Linked DNA regions of Homo sapiens: region 1 is linked to region 2. Evidence: promoter capture Hi-C in human tissues and cell types (Jung and others, 2019). All regions are on one chromosome and are shown on one strand. The core of a region is centred on a gene start or on the middle of the fragment in contact, and the rest is flanking DNA. Distances in the headings are between cores, read along the strand shown.

Region 1 (7,582 bases), core at 2,682-5,181, 640 kb before region 2:
AACACAGGAGCTAGTCTGGGAAGAGGAGAAACGGATCCTTCCCTGTGTAAGGAGATCCCTCCCGAGTCAGTTCAGCCTACCAGAGGTGGGGTGGGGGGACTGATTCATACAAACGTCAGGGGAAAGGTCACAGTGAGGGAGAGAGCACACCTAGGTGGAGAAATCCAAGCAGGGGTTTTAGGACAGGAGGCACTTGGGGGCCTTCGATATCTAAGTGAGATGTTCACAAGGGGACTGAGGAGTTCCGAGCAGAGGCACCTAGCACAGCAGCTCAAAAGCTGGCAAATGCAGGGCACCATCAGAAACCAGGCTATAAGTGGGCAGCAATGGGAAAGGTGAGGGGGGGCAGACTTTGCATGTGGGGAGGAGCAGCTTGTTCTTAATTGCCAAGATTTTTAGTGTCTAATCGCATAAGGAGCAGAGAATCTCGGAAGGTTTTCAAACATGATAGGGGTGACCCCATGGGTGCCATTTGATGATAAAACAGTAAAGTCACCTGAGAGGCAGCTTGAAGGTGACTGGAATTGCTCTTAGGACAGTCTGGTCCTGCCCCTTGTCTTGGGTAACCAGAGTGGACAGGCAGAGGCCCGGCTTCTCATTCCTGCTCACAACTAACTCACTGCAGCACTCAGGACAACTCAGCTAAGCTGTCTGGGTCTCTGTTTTCTTATCTTTAAAATGGGGGGAAGGATACTACCAGTCTTAATTGGAATTGCAAGAGCAGGAGGCCCCAGGCACCAGGCCTCTCTGGGACAGACCTGGGGGCAGCTGAGCTGGGAATTAAGGTAGGCGGTGGGCCCTTGGTGCAGGATGCTGTTTTCAAATCTCTGATGGGTGTGGGGAGGAGCAGCAAGGAGGACCTACCTGGGAGGGAGAACGAGAACCACCCGCGGGCATCCAGCGATCGACCCTGCATTACTGAGTTCCAGGAGGAAGAGCTTTTGCTGGTTTAAGCGTGATAGCTGATAGTGGAAGGGCCAGCTGCCAGAGAGAGGGCCGGGGATGCCCAAGGAGGGGTCTAGGGCAGGTGAGGTTGGGGGGGTGGCAGAGCTGGATGATACCCTGGGACCCTGGCAACGCTGTGATGCTGGGATTTGGGAGGCGAAGTGCCCTGGGATTGTGACCCGGCCTCCTGCTCCTCTCCTCCCCTCAGCCCTCTTCCTCCCCTCTTGCTGACTGCCTGGAGTCTCTGGCCACTTTTGTCCCAGCAGAAGGAGCAGAAGGAGGAGCCTCTGCGGGAGCAGGGGGCAAAGTACTCAGCAGAGACTGGGAGGCTCATCCCCGCTTCCACCCGGGCTGTCGGCCGCCGCAGATCTCACCAGGGCCAGCAGAGTCAGTCTTCCAGCAGACATGAAGGAGTCCAGGCTTTCCTCCTTCAGGATCAGGAGCTGCTGGTGAGGGCCCAGTTCTGCTCCCAGGCTCCTGGCTCTCCACATTAGGGGTCTTACAAACCGCTTTAGGGCAAGGCCCCTCCCAGGGATACTGGTGCCTAGGACTGTTAAGAACAGAAAACTCCAGCCCTGTGGAGTCAGCAGCAGGGGCTATGACCCCCTGCTGCCTCTAGGTTTCCATGTGAGTCCTTTCCCCTCCCTGGGCCCTAGTTCCGTGATCTCTCCACTGGAAGCATGAACGCACTGTTGTCGAGGGTCCCTTCCAGCTGTAGCATTTGCTGAGTTAGTGAAGGGAGCTGCAATGGTGGGTTGAAGAAGGAGGTCCTGCCCATCACAGCAGGCCGCACCCCACAGCCTGCATGGCTAGGCCCAGCCTGGTGTCCACACTCAGCGAGGGGCCTGGCTTGTGCTTCAGTGAGCCCAGAGCCCACCTCCTCCATGCTCACGTTTCCCCACTGAGGCCTGAGATGAGTCCATGCCTCATCCCGGTGGGTGAAGGCGTCAGAGGTCCCTGTGAAAATGCACGGATGTCCTCCAAGAAAGGCCAGAGGTAGACCCAGCATTCTGCCACCTTCCTTGTGACCAGCACTGTCAGGCACACACTCCCTCTGAAACCTTACCACAATGCAGCAAAGTGGATAGAGCAGACAGGGTTCAGCACCTCCATGCCACGGATGGGGAGGCCGAGGCCCTGCCAAGTGATAGTCCATGGGCCAGGTCCCCTGAGACGGAGCAGCATAGCCAGGACTAAGGTGCTTTCTCCACCATAGGGCGGCCTCACCTCACCTGGAATTAGGTTCTCAGGTCCTGTGGGGAGGGGGCACAAGGCAGGTAAGTTGGACACAGAGAATGGAGAAGGGCCCAGGGGCAGGTCAGGGTGGGTCAGCACAGCGGGTGGGCATCTGGGGACGAGGGTGGACCCCTAAGCAGGCAGAGGCCTGGGGAGAGGCCCAGCCCAGATTCCACTCTGCTGAGGATGAGGCCGACCTGCTGGGGACCGACGGGCCCCTCCAGGTCCTAGGATGACTGACCGCCAGGAGCTGAGGGGGCCTCACTTTCTTAGGACTCCAGGGCTTCCACCTTTCACCTCAGGCCCCAACTCCAGCCTGCCATAGCTACAGCCACCAGCAGCAGTCTGGCCTAGGGAGCCCCCATAGCCCATCCCAGACACAGCTGGATCTTTTCCTGATGCTAACTGACTGGAGAACGCAGGGGAAAATGAGCCCGGAAGTAGCAAAGATGTCAAAGACTGAGGATGCAGCAAGGAGCCAAGCATGCCCACAGCTCTGCAGGAGGGAGCCGGTGCTGAGCAGTTTGCAGAACCGGCCTGTGCTGCCCCGCCTCAGGCTGCCCTCTGGGCTTCCCCCATCCCTTTTCCAACATCCCCAGACTCTGGGACTTTTAGGGTATGGCTTACCATGGGGTTCCTGAAATCCCCACACCAAGGCCCTGGGCATGTGGGATTTGGTGTGTCTCTGAGGAGCTGACTGGCCAGCTCGGACCTTGGCTTCCCAGTGAGGGGGCCCTAGGGAATAACCAGCCAAGCAGGCTTCAGGGATGTGGGGTCCACAGAACCTTTCGCTGAGGTCGTGTCCTGCCACCAACTACCTGCTAGCATCCCCTCTCAGGGCCTCGGATTCTCCACCCGTCCAGCAGGAAGATTAAGAATCTTCCTCCTGGACTGTTGTGAGACAAAGCCCTCCGTTAAGTGCAAAGCCCAATGTGGAGGAAAAGGCACAGACCCTTGTGGGAACACGTTTAGCCCAGCAGGCGCCTCTGGGAGCCCACTTTGGGGGAAGGGTCTCCTTGGTGCCCTCCAAACCTACATTTGCCTGTACTCCTTGCCTGTACTCCTGGCTGGAATGTGCTGGCCTCCTGCCCACAGGTCCTGGAGCTCCTGTGTCGGATCCTGGAAACAGACTTGCTAAGCGCAATCCAGTTCTGGCTGCTCTACGCTCCGCCCAAGGGTGAGGACACAGCCCCGCAGCACTGTCTCAGTGGAGGCTGCCAAGGTCCTGCCCTTGATCTCTGGTTCTGCAGGACTCAAATGTCCCTCAGCTCCCACCCTGGAGGGGGCCTTCCATGGAGGCCTCTCCTCCACTTTGGAGCCCCAAACTAACCCTTCCCAGCTGGACAGCATCTCTGCTTCCTCCTCCCCAATTCCTCAGCAGGATTTCCTTACCCCTGCTCCTTGGAGGGGACCCCTCTTTCATGCTGACCCCAGGCCTAGGCACCTGGGAGGAAAAAATCCAAAGACTGAACTTAGCAGACACAGCCCCTCACACGTTGCATTGGGAGACCCCCACACACACACAGGTGCAAGTAGATGCACATAAGGCTACTCATGTGTATACACATGAACACAGGAATACACACGCGGACGCACTGGGACAGTGGGTAGGGGGTGCATCTGAGTAGAAGGGTGAGGAGTGATGAGAACCAGGAAGCTAATTGGAGAAGACTTCCTGGACAGGAGAGTGAAGGAGAAGGGGGAGGAGGAAGGCAGGTCCCCAGTAGACTTCCCAGCGTGGGCCCGGGGATATGGTGGGCAGGAGGGCCAGCTGGGGCCAAGAACAAGGCGTACACATCCTCATGTGGCAGGACAGGGATGTGAAAGGGCTAGGGGCTCTGCACACATGGGCCAGGAGAGAAGGGGGAGCTCTCCCGAGGGGACCTGAGGGCAGAAGGTGGGATGCTTAGAGAAAGCTGCCCTGGATGGAGGCCCTGCTTCTGGCCCCGCCACAGGGACAGGAAGGGGGCTGGGGGCTGAGGACACTGCCCCCGGGCTGTGCTTTCAGAAAAAGACCTCGCTCTGGGACTCCTGCAGACAGCAGTGGCTCAGCTCCTTCCCCAGCCCCTAGTCTCCATCCCTACAGAAAAGCTCCTAAGCCAGCTTCCAGAAGTGCATGAACCTCCTCAAGAGAAGCAAGAGCCACCCTGCAGGTGGGCCCCGCACCCCGCCCTGCCCTTCTGCAGCCTTCTGTCCTCCCAGGTGAGGCCAGTGGGACCTGGAGAAGGGAGCCTGGCGCTGACCAGGGTCTGGGCTGACTAAGTCTGTCCTGGAGGCAGAGGCCCAGCCCCTCCCCCAGGGACCTTCTAGTGCTACCCAAGCCACTTCAAGGCCAACACAGCCAGACCAGCCCCCAAACTGCCAGGGCTGGGGACACCCCAAGGGGGCCACCGGAGTCAATTTTAACCAGATAAGGCTGGATTAGCCACACCTAACTCTTCAGAAGCTCTTTGGTCTATGGGAAGACATGAGTAGAGAGAAAATGCTAACACAAGGCAGTGGTTTTATACCAGTACTAAGTGCCCTGATGGCTGGAAGAGAAAGATTAATTACGAACTGGGGGAGGCCTCACAAGGCAGGTGAGTGGAGCCTGAGAGTCAGCAAGGCCACTGAGCAGCGATAAGTTTGCCTGACACCGCTGGGTGTTCCACGTTTTTCTAGTCCATCCAACAACCCACTGAGGCAGTATTAGCTCCATTTTACAGATGGGAAAACTGAGGCTCAGGAACAATAGAATGGCCTACCCAAAGTAACCTGACTGGTCGGCAGAAGGGCTGGGATTCAGTCTTGGACCCGACTGACTCCCAAAGCCAGCAGCACTCAGATTCTCCCCGGGAGCTTGTTAAAAATGCAGACCCCTAAAGATTCTAACATAGCAGGCCGGGGTGAAGCCGGGGGGGCCTGTATTTTTAACAGTCACCTGAGTGTTTCCAACAGAGTTTGGGAAACACTGATAGGAGTGGTAGGATTTGACTGAGCAAATGAAAGCTTGGGAAAAGGTCATCCCGGGAAGTGGGACCAGCCTGGGTGAAGGCATGGAAGTCAGGAAGGTATACAACTGGGGAATGACAAGTTTGAGGTGTCTGGAGCATGGGTGGGCTTGGTGAGAAGAAGCAGGGGTAGGGGTGGACTGAGGTTTCTTGAAGTCATGGGTTCTTGCAAGGCCTTGGACTTGGTGTTCCCTTCCACTCTGAGAGAGCAGAGGAGGAACGGCCTAGCGAGGAAGACAGGCTTCACTGTGACCTTGGGCAAACCACCTCCCAGCTGCGATCATCAGCTTCAACTATCTCTCAAAAGCCCCCTCCCAGAGTCGTAGGGAGGGAAAATAACATCGGGCACATAAAAAGGCATGGGGAGATGTAAAGCCCAATGCAAGACGGAAGAGCATCTTTCATACTTTGAATTCATTCAAGACGCAGGGTTCTTGTCTTGCCCACTCAAAGGGAAGTCCACAAGGAAACCAGTGGAGCGAGTGAGTCAGGGCTAGGGGGAGGGCTGATGCAGAGTCCATGCCCTGTTTCTCCAGAGACAGGAGGGCCTTGCTTCCCAGTGGAACTAACTGCAGACGGCAGGGCCACAGTTGTCTGGGTCTGGCCTGGGGTGATACAGGAAGGCCACCTGGGTGCTAGTCATGGACAGATGTTTTCTGGCCCTCCAGGAGGGGTGACTCTTGCCTCTCCCTGGAGCAGACAGCTGACTGCACCTGCACCACCTTCCCCACCTCCCTGTCTCCCCTGCCACCCGTGGGGTCAGGTTTCCAGCATGACCTTCCCAGCCCCTTCTTTGTATTTGGTCACAGTCAATCCCCGAAGAAAACGAAGATATCACCTTTTACAAAAAGCGAAAAACCAGGTAAGATTCCAAGTAGTGGGTCATTTGGGGGACTCACCAAGGCCCACTCTGGCTGGATTTCTCAGGGGATTCCAGTCAACTTGGAGATGAGTCCCTGCCCAAGGATGCTGCTCATTTCATCTATTCATTCACTTATTCATATTCATTCTTTAACAAATATTTATCGAGCACCCACAATGTGCTGAACTCTGGGGATCAGTGAGGAAGAATTCAGACAAGTTCCTGCTGTCACGGAACTTACATCCCAGCAAGGAGGAATACAGACAACAAATTAAAACACCTGGGGAGGAGTGGAGACAGATACTGTAAGGAGAATAACAAGGCTCTGTGGTCAGTAGTGAGAAGGACTGGCAGGTGGGGAGAGGGCTCCTAGAGCTGAACGGCAGGAAAGATACAGCTCTACCCAAGTCTAGGAAGAGCCAACCAGCAAAGCTCCCACCTCTTGGTGTGCTGGTGGAAAAACAAGCAGACCATGGTGGCTGGGGCCTTCTGGGTGGGGGACAGTGGTAAGGGAGGCATGAGACAGGTGGGAGGAGCTGGCCTGCGGTAAAGGCCAGGTGTGTGCATGGGTGTAGAAGAGGGTTATGAGCAGGGTGTGCATGCCCCCTCTGGCTACTGTGTGCAGCACGGACTATGGGGGACAAGAATGGGTGAGGGAGACCAAGGAGAGGCTGCTGCAGTCATCCTGGTGCCTTAGACTAGAGTGGGGGGCAGGGGTGGCAGCAGGCTGGAGGGGAGAGAAAAGGAAACACATCCTCAATGTATATTATTCTCCCTGATTAGACCATCAAAGGTCCAGAGTGCCTGGCAGAGAGGCACAGAGTAGGCATCTCATTGATATTTGTTACTTGGATGTTGAAAGAAGAGAGGTTGGATTCCATTCGCTCCATTCCTCTCAGGTTGGATTCCCTCCTCGGTCACCAGCAGAGCTGAGAGCAGGAGCTGGGCTTGACTCAGACCTTCCCCTCAGCACTCACACATCCACCTGCAGCTCCCAGGTGGGGGCCCCACCTTCCCGGTCCTCTCCTGCCTGCTGTCTCTCCTCCCACTAGAGTACATTGGAGAAGCTCAAGTCCTCCAGATGCATTCAAGCCAGAACACAGAGAAGAAGACATCGAAGCCGAGGGCAGAGAGCTGAGGGGCCCTAACACTTGCACCTGCCTTGCTCAAGAGCAGCCCCAAGGGTTCAGGGGTGTTTCTGTCTCCACCACCTTCACAGCAGTACCTGATTCCCTACCGTGAAAACTCTTACTAAATAAAACCGTCTTCCCTGAGAGAGGACAGTTCTGCTTTCCTAGCAGTGGGAGGCCTGTGCTTGGTTGGGGTCACTGATGCCAAGAGAGAGATGGGCTGCACGGAACCATCCCTACTCCCCACTCCCATGGGAAAGCCCAAGTGCTACCTCCACGTGGGGCTTCCCTGGTCCTTTTATGTTCTAGAGAACTGAAGGGCAGATGGCAGTTGGGGCATCCTGAGAAAGGACTCTGCCCCTCCTGGAGCTGAGACACACAGGACTCTGGGTAGGGTAGAGCAGAGGTCGGGGAACGTG
Region 2 (7,038 bases), core at 1-2,500:
GTGCCTGGCCCTTATCCACAACTCTTAAAGTAGGTGCTAATATTTGCAGTAAGTAGATGGAGATGGCTTATCTTTCGCTGAGTTAGCTTGGTCTGATTTGAGCTGGCAATACACTGCCTTCCAGGTCATTGTCCTGCCTGTGGGTCTTTGCACATCCAGACCACACTTCCTTCCTCTTTACCTAAATCTACCTCTTTCTCATCCTTGGAGAGAAGTATTTGCACCCTTCCTTTGCCCTCAGTCTTTCTTTTTTATTTTTTCATTTCATTTCATTTATTATTATTATTATTATTATTTTTTTTTTGAGACAGAATCTCACAGTCACCTAGGCTGGAGTGCAGTGGAATGATCATGGTTCACTGTAGCCTCAAACTCCTGGGCTCAAGCAATCCTCCCACCTCAGCTTCCCGAGAAGCTGGGACTACAGGTGTGCACCAACAAGCCCGGCTAATTTTTGTAGGTCTCGCTATGTTGCCCAGGCTGGTCTCCAACTCCTGGGCTCAAACGATCCTCCCGCCTTGGCCTCCCTAAGTGCTGGGACTGTAGGCATGAGCCACCGTGCCTGGCCATGCCCAATCTTTCTTACTGCAGTTGGTGATACATGGTTTTTGTTTTCTCTATACATGTATTTTTTGGTGGTGTGTTTAATATCTGTCTTTTCCCAGACTGTCGCCTCCGTGAAAGCAGGAACCTTGTCAGTTTTCTCTCCAAGTTATCCCTCCAACGCCTAGCACAGTGCCTGGCAAATGTAGGAGCTCAACAGGGTTTGCGGAATTATTATGTGTATGTCTGAAGGAAGGATGTTGGCAGTGCGCCCAACGTGTGAGGGGAACCCCACTCTCCAAGGTTCCAGTGGCTTTAAAGGTGTCCTCGAGAAAATCAGAGGAACAGGGGGATGCTTGTTTTCCTTCCTTCCTTCTCTCTCTCTCTCTCTCTCTCTCTCTCTCTCTCTCTCTCTCTCTCTCTCTCTCTCTCTTTTTTGCTTTAAAGTATGCTGAAAGGACACTTTAAACCAAGTCTGAATGGCTCGGCAGGACTGGGGCGCGGGTGCTGGCAGGAGCCGGAGAGGCGACATCTGGCCATGGGAGCATTTGTTTCAAAGTTCAAGGCCGTTCGCTCAGGGTCAAGGTTAGTCCGGCGGGCCGTTCGGAGACCAGCCCCAGCGTGCCAGGACCGTTTCCGGGGCCTGGCCGGGGCGTTGCCGCGGGGTCGGGGACCAGCACGAGTGCTGAGTCACGCCCCGCCCGGGAGCGCCTCGGGTCAGTAACTCGGGAAGACGACCAAGCGGGAGCGGGAGCGGGAGCGGGAGCCGGAGCGAGAGCGCGCGGGCGCGGCCGACAGGTGAGATCGCGCCGCCAGGCGGGCTCTCGAGACCCCGGGCGCCCCGGGCGGGACCGGGACCCGGAAGAGGGGCGAGCGGATTAGAGGCCTGGCTCACGCCGCGTCTGGCGTGGGGAGGTCGGTGCGCGCAGTTGTGGCGCTGCGAGGAGAGGGATACTCGACTCAGGCCCGCCCCTCTCTGTCTCCCCCAAAAAACGCAACAGGGAGATGTGCTCCTGGCCGAGGGCAAAGAAAACTCCACCCTCCTGGTTTGGCCCCTAAATCCCTGCTAAGTTTTCCTAAGGAAGATGGGCTTAGGCCGGGAAGGGCGAACCGGGGAAGAGGGAACACGGGGCGGGTGTAACCCGGATCTTGCGAGGACCGTCCGAGGGTCCGCTGGGTAGAAGCGGCCGGTCCGGACAGAAGCAGGTGTGAGAGGAAAGGGAGAAACCTCAGTCTCTAAGAGGAAAGAAACTGGAGTCAACCCAGTGCCCATAGGCTCGGGGGAGCTGGGGGGTGCAGCACTAGGAAGTCTGCTTCTCCCTTCCCGAAGCCCTGGGTGCTGCAGGGACAAAGACCAGCGGTGAGTAAACTAACTCTGATGGGACGCGTGCAGTCCACCTGGAACTGAATTAGTGGCCTATATTGGGGCTCTCCTTCCAACACCACCTGATCAACACACCCTACCTTTCCCTACAAGGAGAGTCTTTTTGACCCTGGAATTTAAGGTGAGGATGGGGAGTGGTGAGGTCTCTTGGGGGCTGATGATCCTGTAGGAGGACAGGCATAGGGCAGAGAGTCAGATATAGTTTGGGATGGGACTTGCAGGTTTCTGGACTGTGCACCTGTGTTCAAAAGCCTGTATCAGGTTCCAGTGTGCGTGCATGCACCTGCCAGAGAGCCCCGGGATCTCAGATCACACCTGCCCTCACCCCAGCACCTAGAGAGGAGTTCTCCAAGGAGCACAGTGTGTCACCAAGAAGAGGGCACTGAGCCCCAGCCAGGGTGGGCTGGGCAGGCTTAGCACTACCTAGCCCAGAAGTGATGGGCTGGGCAGGCCGGTGGACTCCAGGGCCAGCCTGACTTTTGTCTGGTGGCCAAATGAAGCCAGCGTCCAGGTACAGGTGGTGGGCAGACCATGGGGACCACAAAACTGGCTCTGAGGAGGATGGACAAATTGCTTGGCCTAGGTTTTCTGTGCGGGAGTGAATATGACATCCAGATGAACCTGTCTGCCCCAGAGCTGCCCTCCCCTGGGGATAAAAGGAGGCTGCCTCCCTTAGACTTTGAGTCCCTTTTCAGAAACTGGTCTTTTGGGGGTTCTGTTCTTCAAGTAGTCCCTGAGGGGCTGGCCATGGAGTGTCCCAGGAAGGGAGGCCGCCCAACCGTCTCCATCCTGCTGTGTCCCGCAGGTGGAGGAAACCTCCATGGTGCTGTGAGTCGTGCTGTAGTGGCCTTCTTATCCGGGACGGCCACTCTGGGAATGTGGCTCTCCAGAGGCTGATGTTGAAACCTACCCTTTGTGTGAGCCATGACGACTCAAAAAGCATCGTGTTTTATTTGTAATATTTGTGAAGCAATACTGGAGCAACTCTGGGATGACATTCTTGCTTTGATCAGAGCCCACACGGTTCCTGCTGTGTGTCTTCTGAGGCACAACCTCTGAACAGCTTTGGCATAAATGTAACTTCCTGGTTTTTCAGTAGTCCTATGGGCTGCTTATTGTGGAATAATACCCTTGAGATCAGGGTGGATGCTCTTGGCAGAGAAAACAGGATTGACTGAGCAAATTTTTGTGTAAATCAGATTGTGTGTGTGTGTGTCTGTGTGTATGTGTGTTGTGGCAGGGAGCAAAGGTAAAGTTACTGAGGGGTTCCTGGACAATCAGGGTTTGTTCCGCTCTCTTAGGCCTTCTTTTAAGCTAACATTCTTGAACCTAGACAGACATAGTTAAGATTCTCTGTGATTCCCACTGGGGCTTTGGTGTTCAGTTCAAAATCAGATGGTGGATTTAGCAGTTCCTCAAAAAGTTAAACTTCAAGTTACCATATGACCCAGCAATTCCATACCTAAATATATACTAAAGAGGACTGAAGACTGGTTCACACAAAAACCTGTACACAAATGTTCATAGTGGCGTTATTCACATAGTCAAAAGGTGGAAACAACCCAAGTGCCCGTCAGCTGATGAGTGGATAAACAAAATGTGGTCTATTCATACACCAGTAATGGACTGTTTTTCAGCCAGGAAAAGGAATGAAGCACTGATAACATGCTACAACTCGGATGAACCTTGAAAACATGATGATCAGTGGAAGACGTCGCAAACAAAAAGCCACATAGTGTATAATTCCATCTACATGAATTGTCTAGAACAGACAAATCTATAGAGACAGAAAGAACATTAGTAGCTACCCAGGGCTAGGGTAGGTGGGGTACAGGATTTATTTTGGGGGTGATGGAAGTGTTCTGGAATTAGATAGTTGTGATGGTTGCACAACCTGGTGAATACACTAAAACCCACTGAACTTACATCTTTTTTTGAAATTTAAATTAAAAAAAATTTTTTTTTGAGACAGAGTCTTGCTCTGGCGCCCAGGCTAGAGTGCAGTGGCATGATCATGCCTCACTGCAACCTCGACCTCCTAGGCTCAAGCGATCCTCCCACCTCAGCCTCCTGATATCAGGGACCACAGGCATGTGCCACCATGCCTGGCTAATTTTTGTATTTTTTGTAGAGATGGGGTTTCACCATATTGCCCAGGCTGGTCTGGAACTCCGGAGCTCAAGCAATCTGCCTGCATTGGCCTCCCAAAGTGTTGGGATTAGAGGTGTGAGTCAGCCTACATCTCATTTTTTTTTTTTAAAAGATGGGGTCTCATCTAGGCTGGAGTGCAGTGGTGCAATCATAGCTCACTGTGAACTTACATCTTAAGTGGTAAATTGTATATGTGAATTCTATTTTGATTAAAAAATTAGATGGTAAGCGGTCTGTCCTATTATTAAAGACATTATTTCTGCAAAAATGACATATGCTTGTTTGAAAAAAATTCAAACAATACAAAAGCTTAAGGAAGAAAATGAAAACATTATCTATGACCACTATTAGCACTTTGGTTCAGACAGCAGGTTTGATGTGTTGAGAATTGAACTTGGGCAAGTTGTTGAACTTTTTTCCAAAATAAGGAGAAAAAACTCATACCTTAAATCGAAGATATGGGCAAAAGTGCAACAGATGCTAACTGCTGTAATCATTACCTGTATATGTGTATACATACCGAGGTGGATGTGTCTTATTGGCCATAAATGGGATTAGATCTTTCATGTGGTTCTGTGGCCTGACTTTTTGGGACTGGGCAAACTAATCTGCAACATATATTTTATATATATATATATAAAACGTGGCTGCTGTGTATTCATTGCTACTCTGTGCCAGGCACCATGCTAAAATGCTTTACGTAAATGATCTCATTGAATCTTTTCTACAGCTCGAAATCACAGTGGCTTACCCCTGTAATTCCAGTGCTTCGGGAGGCTAAGGCAGGAGGATCCCTTGAGGGGCTAGGAGTTCAAGATCAGCCTAGGCAACATAGTGAGACCCTCATCTCTACAAAAAAAAAAAAAAAAATTAGCCAGCTCAGGAGTTCAAGGTTATAATGAGTTATGATCATGCCACTGCATTCTGGCCTGGGTGATAGAGCAAGACCCTGTCCCTAAGAAAATTAAAAATAAGTAAATAAATAAATAAATATTGCCTGACTTTTTCTTTTCTTTTTTTTACTTTTGAGACAGGGTCTCACATTGTTGCCCAGGCCGAAGTGCAGTGGTATGAAGCACTGATCCATGCTACAACTTGGATGAACCTTGAAAACATGTTTTGTGTAAATCAGATTGTGTATGTGTGTCTTTGTGTGTGTGTGTTGTGGGAGGGAGCAAAGGTAAAGTTACTCACTGCAGCCTCAAACTCCTGGGCTCAAGCAGTCCTCCTGCCTTTGCCTCCTGAAGTGCTAGGATTATAGGCAGGAGCCACCACACCCAGCCCTTGCCTGACTTTTTCATGGACAGACTTTTTGTATAAAAACGTCATTCACAGGCTGGGCACAGTGGCTCGCACCTATAATCCCAGCACTTTGGGAGGTCGAGGCAGGCCGATCACTTGAGGTCAGGAGTTCGAGACCAGCCTGGCCGACACGGCGAAACCCTGACTCTACTAAAAATACAAAAAACAATTAGCCGGGCATGATGGCACATGCCTGTAGTTCCAGCTACCTGGGAGGCTGAGGCAGGAGAATTGCTTGAACTCAGGAGGCAGATGTTGCAGTCAGTGAGCTGAAATTGAGCCACTGTACTCCAGCCTGTGCAATAGAGTGAGACTCCATCTCAAAAACAAAACAAAACATCACTCACCCTTTAAAAACAACTGGCTACACAGTACTGCATTGTATGGGTTTATAATATTTTATCCTGTAGCCTCTCATTGGTGGCAGTTTCCATTGATTGATGGAGTGTCACACAGGTGGAGGTTTGCACAGCACTACTGCTATGTTAGAACATACAACTGGGCATCCACTAATTCCATACGTGCATTTTCATCTCCTACAGGGTGTGTGGCTGGAAATGCAGCTCCATGGCTTAAGCCCTTGCTTTAGGTGTCTGGCCAAGTAGATCATGGCCAAGCAGAGGGGAGTTCACTGTTTTCTGGGGCCAGGCAAGAACCGACACTGGCAGAGCCAAAGAGAGTCGGCATGTCCAAGAGTATTGGGCAAGGGGCTGCCAAAGAGGCAGGGTGAAATCTGCTGGAGAGTCACTGGCCTCCCTATTCCACAAGTAAGCGTGGCAGGGGTCAGTAGAGGAGAGAGAAGAGAGAGAGAGCAGATTGCAGGAGAGGCCTCAGGCAGCCTGAAGAGGAAAAGTGCCTCCCCTCCCTGGCCCTGCTCTGGTCTGGGTGTCCCCTCAGGCCCCAGGCCCTTCACAGGGAACCCCAGATAAGCAATTTGCCTTCCTTGGGTGAGGCAAGAGTTTGCCCTTTCGGGGAAGCAGGTTGATGATACTAGGGGCCTGGGGGTCAAGGGCTTGGCTCCTTTGGTCAACTCATTGCCCCTGAGGTCCACTCTGGGGTCACTAGACTTTCTTTCCCTGGAGGAAACCCCATGAAGGGCCCGGAGCAGGCTTGTATGTCCACCTGATTGTCAAAGCTGCCCTGGCATGGCAGGCTGTCTGTCTGTCGGCCCCTGTCACCTGTCCTCTAAGCCTCTCCACCTTCTGCCACAGGTGCCCTGAACTCTACCTGCCTCCTCCCTTCCTGCCACTGGGCCTCTGGCCCAAGTTGTTTCCTCTGCTAGGAAGGCCCCCTGATCTCAGCTCTTTTTCAGGGCTCTAGGCTGTCCTTTTTGAGTGTCCCTGGGTGCTCCAGTGTGACCTGACGCACAGTGGACTCCCCTGTCCCTATCCCCGGCCAGCTGCGTAGCCCCTCTCAGGGGCCATGCCCAGCTAACTTGGAAGTGGGGCTTTCTGGGTGTTTTCTTGACCTCATCCCTGGCTGACAGCCCCAAGGGTAAGACCCAGCACAGAGGGTTGCACGCTGCCAGGGGCTGGTGAAACACACGCCACCCACGGCCTGCCTCATCACTGCCTACATTCTCAGGCCCTGCGCAGCTCCTGGTGTGCACTGCTACCTCTGGCTGGGCCTGTGGGCCCTCCTGGGTCCTGGTCCCTAGG

The links. Contacts are between HindIII fragments. The study calls those that stand out against the background at their distance.
Region 1: a fragment that was not itself captured here is called in contact with the fragment with the promoter of AIFM2 in region 2 in 1 of the 25 tissues and cell types used here (small bowel).

What each region holds. Positions count from the first base shown.
Region 1 is chr10:70,770,965-70,778,546 of GRCh38, reverse strand. TBATA (thymus, brain and testes associated) reads left to right here. Exons shown (of 11, transcript NM_001318241.2): 7 at 1,209-1,394; 8 at 3,277-3,358; 9 at 4,190-4,334; 10 at 5,981-6,033; 11 at 7,086-7,309. The coding sequence ends at 7,171. Among named protein-coding and RNA genes, the nearest start is that of TBATA, 11 kb to the left of the region's middle. RefSeq lists a silencer at 2,019-2,200 and an enhancer at 1,469-2,296. The HindIII fragment of the contact is 6,791 bases long and covers 536-7,326 here.
Region 2 is chr10:70,127,037-70,134,074 of GRCh38, reverse strand. AIFM2 (AIF family member 2) reads left to right here and starts at 1,250. Exons shown (of 9, transcript NM_032797.6): 1 at 1,250-1,341. RefSeq lists silencers at 1,076-1,395, 1,228-1,437 and an enhancer at 959-1,459. The HindIII fragment of the contact is 11,395 bases long and covers 1-6,328 here.